Regions from separate parts of the Homo sapiens genome. Here region 2 is linked to region 1. Evidence: promoter capture Hi-C in 16 types of primary human blood cells and fetal thymus (Javierre and others, 2016). All regions are on one chromosome and are shown on one strand. Each heading gives the region's core, a stretch centred on a gene start or on the middle of the fragment in contact. The rest is flanking DNA. Distances are from core to core; before and after follow the strand shown. Region 1 holds the start of RTL1 (retrotransposon Gag like 1). Region 2 overlaps LINC00523 (long intergenic non-protein coding RNA 523).

Region 1 (4,024 bases), core at 1,471-3,970:
CTGTCTGTCTGTTAGCCAGGAAGGCAAACCAGCCTGCGCACTCCACCTGCAACACGATGCTGCCCCCCCACGGCGGGTCGGAGCAGCTGTGGCGACCCCAGGGCTGACAGATTGGGTTGTCAGGAGCAGGACAATGAGGCTGCAGTGAGGATGGGCTCCATCCTTGAATGACTCTGCCCTCCTTGAAATTTTTCTGCTCCATGGAGGTGCATCTCTGCCCCCGAGGACCTTGGGCATTTCACAGACAAGGAGCCCTGGCTGGCCTCGCAGCCATCCCCCATATGCACACACGCACACGCACAGACATGCGCGCACACACACATGCTGAGTGCCTGCACTGGGAGCATAAGGCAGAAAACTCCTTTGGAAACTGCAGAACAGAGCCTTGTCTAGCAGAGGTCCCCTGATAAAGGTCCCACAGTTCCTGGGAACTGAACCCCTGTGAATGGGCCAGGAGAGGCAGCTCCCGACTCCCGTGTGGGCTGCATTCATCAGCAGGCCGGCACCCCAGCCCTGTCACTGTGTGAGGAGCTTTCATGAGTCCACTGAACATGTAAGTCACAGTCTGGCAGCTGGCTGCATCTGTGGTTGCTGCTCAGCCTCCAGAAAAGGGCCCCTCAACCTGCCAGACCTCCTCGCTCCTTCCACTCACTCTGCCAGCCTGTTGCCCCAGAGAGGACACAGGCCAGCCTCTGTGGGCTCAGGAGCCAGGGCAGGTGCTTGGCCACTCTAGGTGTTCTGGCCCTCAAGAGGGGAGTTGGCAGCAGGACAGTCCCCACCTCCCCCCACCAGCCCTGGGCACTCAACCCCATTCTCTGCTCCTCTCCCTCATTGCCTTATTGGGACAGAGGCACCCCGCCAACCATCTCTGTGCCTTTGCCATTTAGCCCAGGGCAAGCTACTCGGGAGAGGCCAAATGGCCTCATACTGACCCCTGCCTGGTCCCCTCTGGCCACCTCGCTCACTTGCCCGCTTGCCTGCTCAGGAGTTGGTGCTGTGGGAGCTTCTCAAAGGCCTAAACATGTGGGCTGCCAGCCTGGGCAGGAAACCGTGCTGCAGCCTTCTCAGCCAAGCACTGGCCTGCCTCTCTCCCCTCGGATGCCTCCTGTAACAGGGAGCTCCCTCTCTCCCCAGGCAGCCTGCTCAGGGCTCGCACGCAGAGCTGCTTTGCTGAGCCCTCCCCTGCCTTTTGCATCTGCCTCCTCGGCTGTGCAGCAGCCCCCTTGCCCCCTCTGCCCTCCGATCTCTGCAGGCTGTGGGCTCCCTCTCTTTTCAGTCCTCTCCTTTCTGTGCTGAATGGCAATACCCCCACCAATGGTGGGAACAGGATTGGGCGCCTCTACACCTGTCCTAACACCTCTGTCTCTGTTCTTTTAGACCTGGGACAGAGCCCTTTGCCCTGCTGTTCTGCTAAAAGCCCAGGGGAGGGCGTGGTGCTCCCCTCCTGGGGCCAGCTGCTCCATGTCTATCTGTTGAGCGGCTTCTCAGCCCTCTTGGGTTTTCTATGGCCCCTTTTCCAGTTGCTAGGGAGAACGCTCTGTATGCAGCCCCCTGCCTTTTCTGCAGGAGCTGCTGGCCTCCCGGCCAGCCCTGGTCAGCCCTGCAGTAGCAGCAGCAGCAGCAGCAGCAGCAGTAGGCAGCCACAGCAGGGCTGGGGGCTCCCGAGCCAGGCAGACCGGCTTGACTCCCTGCTCTCTAGCTGCAAGACAATTCCCTTTACTTTTCAGACTCGGCTTTTCCCCTGTGAAATGGAGATGAGAGTTTCTCCGTCACTGGCGTGAAGTGAGGACTAAATGAGATAAGTGTAGGCTTGCACACATCAGACACTTCATAAATGCTTGTGGAGTAGACGGTGGGACCCAGGGAGGGAGAGAGAGGTATGTAACAAGTGTCGCAAGAGAGAAAACAGCCTGGCCTTTCAAGACCCTGCTCCCAATACAAACGGGAACCTCTCCTGGCAGAGTCCCCTCTGCTGGCTTAATCGCACAAATCAAGTCAGCCGGAGGCAGCCCCCGGCCTGTGGAACTCACAGTAGATGCAGCAGGCAGCATAAATGACATGCAGAGCCCACATCTGCATTTAATAGACCGAGAATTTGCATTGTATATAACAGCACGAGGGGTAAAGCATGAAGGCATAAAGGAACAGTTTTTCCCGGCGGCTTCCTTGAAGGGCCAGCTTAGACAGGGGTCTGGGGAGGAGAAACTCAGCGGGGTCCGGGCATCCCATAGACTATGGGACAGACATCCATCCATGCACTCATTCTCCAAGCCACCACAGTGTACCTACCTTCCCCGGGCCCAGTCCCAAGCGTGAGGCTGGGGATGAAGTGATGCCGGTGGCTTAGTGATGCCGGTGGCTTCCTGTCCTCGAAGCTCAGTCGGTCTGGTGGGGGAAACAAACAGGGAATAAGACACTGGAAATTGAGGTGATCAAGAGGGGGTGCAGGCATGGAGATTTATGGAGCCCCGTCTTGGAGCCAAGTCCCGAACTGGGCTGTCTGCAAAGAACTCACCCGGGCAATAACCCTGCACACTGGTCTCATGAGCCCCATTAGATTGATGAGGAAACTGAGGCACAGAAAGGCAAAGTCCTATACTCACCGTCTCTCAGCTGGTGTGAGGCTGGGCCAGGATGGAACCCCAGACTCTCCGAGGCTCCCCACCACACCCTGCTGCTGAAGGCTGCTCAGCGAGGCTGTGCCGAGTGCTGGGGGGGTGTGGGTGGGCAGGGGACGGATTGATTAGTTATAAGCACCTCCCAGCGGTGCTTGAGATCCCAGCTCCTCTGTGGCCCAATCCGTTTGAAGGGCAGATTCAAAATTAGGTGGTAGCACCTATGGGCAGAGGCTTATGAAAATGGCATTATTAACCTGATGTGGAGAGGGCCCTGCCTGTCTGCAAGTAGATTGCAGATAGAGACGGAGGGGGCTGGGCTTGTTTGTGTGGACAGTGAGTTAGAGAGGACAGAGAACATCCAGGGGCCCTCCAGGGCTTCCGGACGGGGAGAACCAGATCTGGAGGGGCTGGACAAGTGGGAGGGGGAAGAGGGGTACGTCTTAAGGGTGCCCCGGCACCTCAGGGAAATGCCCCAGGCTGGACTTGGAGGAGGATCTCCAGCCTTGACTCTGACACAGACAGGGACTATGGCCCTCCCCGCACCTCGGTTTCCCATCTGTGAGATAAGAGATGGAAACCAAACGTCATTTCGAGAAAAGCCCCCATTCCCACCACCCTCCTGGCCCCCCCCTTCCCCCACCACCCCAATCACGTTTGCCAGACACCTGTCTGCTTGTCAGAGCAATATTCAACAGGAGAGTTCCTTCGCTTCCTCCCTGGAGGGAGAAGGGAGAGGTGTGGACGGGGAGAGGGGAGGGGAGAGGTGCCCCCCACTCAGAGAGGCCGCTGAGCAGAGTTCTGCATCGGGTAGGAGTTGGGCCACCGAAGATTTGTGCCAACTCACGGTGCGGTGGAATCAGACAGTCTGAATTCTTCAGACACCAGCCAAGAGTCTGTGGCGCCCCCACGTGCCACAAGGGGGCTGCCTGGGCCACATTTCTGAGCCCGAAAAGTGAGGAGGGGGACAGTCAAGAGGGACCGGCGCTTTTGCTCTGGCAGCGGCGCTTTTAACTGCGACAGATGCGTGCGGTGCGGCGGGGGAGCCGGCCGTGCCGGGGCTGGGGGCTGCTGGGCGGGGGTGGTCGGGGCGGGGGGCGGGGGCTGCAGGTTGCGCCCCTCCCTCACAGACGGCTGCGCTGCAATGCAGCAGGCTGCGGGAGCTGTCCCGGGAGCTGTCCTGTCCGGTGGCCGGCTTTCCAAAGTGGGGAACGAGAGATGAGGGAGGGAGCACTTCCAGGCGCTGCGTGGTGGCCAGGCGCCCAGGAAGCCGAGGGGCCCGAGACTCTGCAGCGGGGCCAGAAAGAGAAGAGTGGGGGAGGAGGCCGGGAGTGGTGCATGGACCAGGGGGTAGAGGGAGGTGGGTGTGGACCTGGGGTCGGGCGCCAGTCAGCTTGCAGCCTATGAAG
Region 2 (3,726 bases), core at 121-2,620, 240 kb before region 1:
TTGGGAGACACGCGGTTCGCAATGTACGGGGAGCCCATTGCTTGGAGCCCAAGCTGGCAGGATGTCAAACCTGAAGTACTAGGCGTCTTGGAGCTTCTGCCTGGAGTACGAAATCCGAGGAAACTGAAGTGTGGAAAACGGGGCAGTAGCAATGTGAATGAGGATGATTGAGGGGTGCTGGGGACTCCCTGTTTCTTAACCTTGGAGGGCTCTCAGAGGCATGCTTCTCCATCGTCGACCCAGGGCACCATGGAGCTATCTTGCCCTTTCTTTTCCTGACATCCAATGATTCCCCACCTAATAGTGCATGGAGCTCTTGGGAAAGAGTGTATAGATTCTATATGGTGTGCATGGAGCAGCTGGCCCTGAGGAAGGAAGGGATTTCATTATTGCAAGGCTCAGGGGCAAGTGTGGACTAGCAGGGTCCCAAACTCTACAGGCCTTGACAGTCCAACATTGTCACACTCAACACTCGCCCATTTGCTTTAAAAAGCACCCTAGACCTGCACTCTCTGATATAGCAGCCATGAGCCACATGGGTACTGAACACTTGAAATGCAGTTTGACCAAATCGAAAGGTGCTGTGAGTGCAAGCAGCATACGGGACTTCAGAGACTTAGTACAAAAGGAGAATGTAAACGATCTCGTGAAGATTTCTACATCGATTACACATTGAGATGATAATATTTTGAATACATTGGGTTAAATAAAATATATTGTTAAAATTAATTTCACCTGGTTAAGAGCCAGGTGAAATTTACTTTTCAAAACATGTTGCTAGAAATTGTGAAATTACTTATGTGGCTCACTTTACATTTTTTTTTTTTTTTTTTTGCCCAGGCTGAATGGAGTGCAGTGGCGTGATCTCGGCTCACTGCAACCTCCGCCTCCAAGGTTCAAGCGATTCTTCTGCCTCAGCCTCCTGAGTCGCTGGGATTCTAGGCACATGCCACCACACCCGGCTAATTTTTGTATTTTTGGTAGAGACAGGGTTTCGCCATGTTGGCCAGGCTGGTCTCGAACTCTTGACCTCAGGTGATCTTCCCACCTCGGCCTCCCAAAGCGCTGGGATTACAGGTGTGAGCCACTGCACCCGGCCTCACTTTACATTTTTATTGGACAGCACTGCTCTAGAAAGGGAGCTAGGAAGATAGTAAGTAGTGGCTGACTCTTGGTGGTGGAATTACAAAAGCCTTTCCCCCCTCCTTTTTTAAAAATAATTTTTCTGTGTTTTTTAAGCTTTGCAGAAATGCCACAACTAGCCATTCTTGCTTTATATCTGCAAAGGCACATCTATTATTATTTTTAATGACTCTCAGAGCTTGTTGGGAAATGGGACTGAGTTAAGCAGCTTCCTGGAAGGATCAGTGTCAGCAACCATGCTGTGGGGAGAGTCAGGGAACAGCAAGAGTGTCGGGGGCTTTGAGGACTCCAGAGATTTGAACTGGGCTCAGGGTTCAAGAGCTCAGGTAGGAACCAGAACCCCAGTGAGGGGTGATGGGGAAGCTTATTAGTGAGACACAGGAAGTGGCTCCAGTGATGGCTTCATGGCTTTGGCCTGGTGGGGCCTCTTCCGGTGTACACAGCAGGAAGCTGTGCTCTTCCTGATGGACGTCAGCTCCTATCTCTCCTGGGGAGTGGAGGCTGCTCTGGAGTGGGGCCAAGATCGGGAGGCCCAGGAGAGAAAAGGGCCTGCAATCTACCTCCCAGTCAACAAGATGCTATAATAAAAACATAGCCAACTGTCACTCAGCGTTTATTACGGTGCCAGGTGCTGCTTCACATACTTTCCATATTTTAACTCATCTATTCCTGAATTGCAATCTATGAGATAGGAACTATTATTGTCCCCATTTCACAGATGAGGAAACAGGTGCAGAACCGTGGAGTAACCTGCGCAGGGTCTCCAGTAGAAAAACAGGCCCTTGGTCAGATGAATTTACCCACTTCGGCCACCAGGGGCGCTGTTGGCACAGCTTGAACTCGAGACCAGCGCTGTCCAACGGAAACCGAACGTAAGCCACATTTCTAAAAAGTACACAAGAAAAGTGAAATTAGTGTTATATTTTCTTTAACTCGGTATATCCAAAATAGTATCATCTTGGCATGTAATCAACACGACATTTATTAGATACTTTACTTTTTTTTTGTTAGACTGTGTCTCGAAATCCAACATGCTGTTTGTACTTAAATGCACTTTAGATGTGAGTTCCATTTTAGGCACCCCGTAACGATATGTGGCTCGTGGCTGCTGCATTGAACAGTTCAGCCACTAAAATCAAAGAACTAGCCCAGGATGGCGAATTGGTCCATCCAGTCTACCAACCCTGATTGTTGGTGTTGGTGCTTGGAGGCATGCTGTGATTGATTAGCAATGTCTGCTGTGAACGTGGAAGGGGCACTGTGGGAGGGTCTGTGTCTCCTGTATACTGACTGATCATGAGCCATGCCAGCACAGTGAAAAGAGACCTCTGTATTCCTGTGGGTGGTCGTGCACCAAGGGTTGTGGTGACCTCCCCCTCCTCTGCCCTCCTGTGGTTTTTACTGTGTGCGGTGGGCCAGGCTCCAGGTATACTGATCCTGGGTCCTGTGTTCACATTCCTGTGCCTCTGTTTTCTGGCTGTGACTCCAGATGAGCCACTATACTTCTGCGAGCCTCAGCTTCCATATCTGAAAAATAGGCGTAATAACCACTACTTAGCAGGACTGCTACATATATGAAGAATTGGCATTCAATAGACATAGAGTAAGTGGTGGCTCCCCATTCTTCCTCCTGCTTCCCCCCCACTCTCCTCAAGACAGACTCAAAGTCTGTCCTCACCCAAAACCCTCTCGGGAGGCAGACAGCTCCTTACTGCGCCTTCTTGGCGATCTCTCTGCCCCATCCAAGGCTGAGTGAGGCCTCCTGCTTGCTGGCTTCCTGCAGTGCCCCTCTGCCGGCCCCTTCTGTCAAGGCCAAGGACCGACTCAGCCCTCAGCAAGCTAGCACAATAGCCCTCCCCATCTCTGGCTCCAAGTGGGCTCTCACCTATCAGACAGCTGATGATGCTGAGACACTCTGCTGGTTCCATGGTTTTTTTGTTTTAGTTTTTTTGAGACAGAGCCTTGCTCTGTCACCCAGGCTGGAGTGCAGTGGCTTGATCTCGGCTCACTGCAACCTCCACCTCCCTTGTTCAAGCGATTCTCCTGCCTCAGCCTCCTGAGTAGCTGGGATTACAGGTGTGTGCCACTATGCCCGGCTAATTTTTTTGTGTTTTTAGTAGAGACAGGGTTTCACCATACTGGCCAGGCTGGTCTCGAACTCCTGACCTTGTGATCCACCAGCCTCGGCCTCCCAAAGTGCTGGGGTTACAGGCATGAGCCACCGCACCTGGCCCTGGTCCCATGTTTTTTAATAACCACCCCCCTCGGCCACTGTAGACAAGGACGTTCTCTTCCCGGCCTCCAGTTAGGACACTGGCTCTCCTCCAGCTCAGCATGCAGAGGCCTCCCATGGCCTGTGCCAGTTAGCACCTCTCCCAAGACACCTGGGGCCCCCTTCTGGGGAGGAATTTACAATCAAGCAACATCTGGCAGAGAGTGAACTGTAAATGGTGAACACGCTGGCGAGGCAGCGACTCCAATTAGGAAACAACTAGATTTCTCTAAGTATGATGGGAAAGTAATTCTCTGGCCAACAGAGTTTAATCAGAATGTTTTATGCAAGACGTATCCCTGACCCTGACA

What was found. The method cuts DNA at HindIII sites, captures the fragments that hold promoters and counts their contacts. A CHiCAGO score of 5 or more calls a contact.
Region 2: a fragment that was not itself captured here is called in contact with the fragment with the promoter of RTL1 in region 1 in 1 of 17 cell types (megakaryocytes); the score reaches 7.0 in megakaryocytes.

What each region holds. Positions count from the first base shown.
Region 1 is chr14:100,901,002-100,905,025 of GRCh38, forward strand. RTL1 (retrotransposon Gag like 1) reads right to left here and starts at 2,721. Exons shown (of 4, transcript NM_001134888.3): 1 at 2,604-2,721; 2 at 2,290-2,385. All of the region lies in intron 5 of MEG8 (maternally expressed 8, small nucleolar RNA host gene), which reads left to right. The HindIII fragment of the contact is 7,837 bases long and covers 1-4,024 here.
Region 2 is chr14:100,661,508-100,665,233 of GRCh38, forward strand. The region is part of intron 1 of LINC00523 (long intergenic non-protein coding RNA 523); the gene reads left to right. Among named protein-coding and RNA genes, the nearest start is that of LINC00523, 6.1 kb to the left of the region's middle. RefSeq lists an enhancer at 1-214. The HindIII fragment of the contact is 267 bases long and covers 1,238-1,504 here.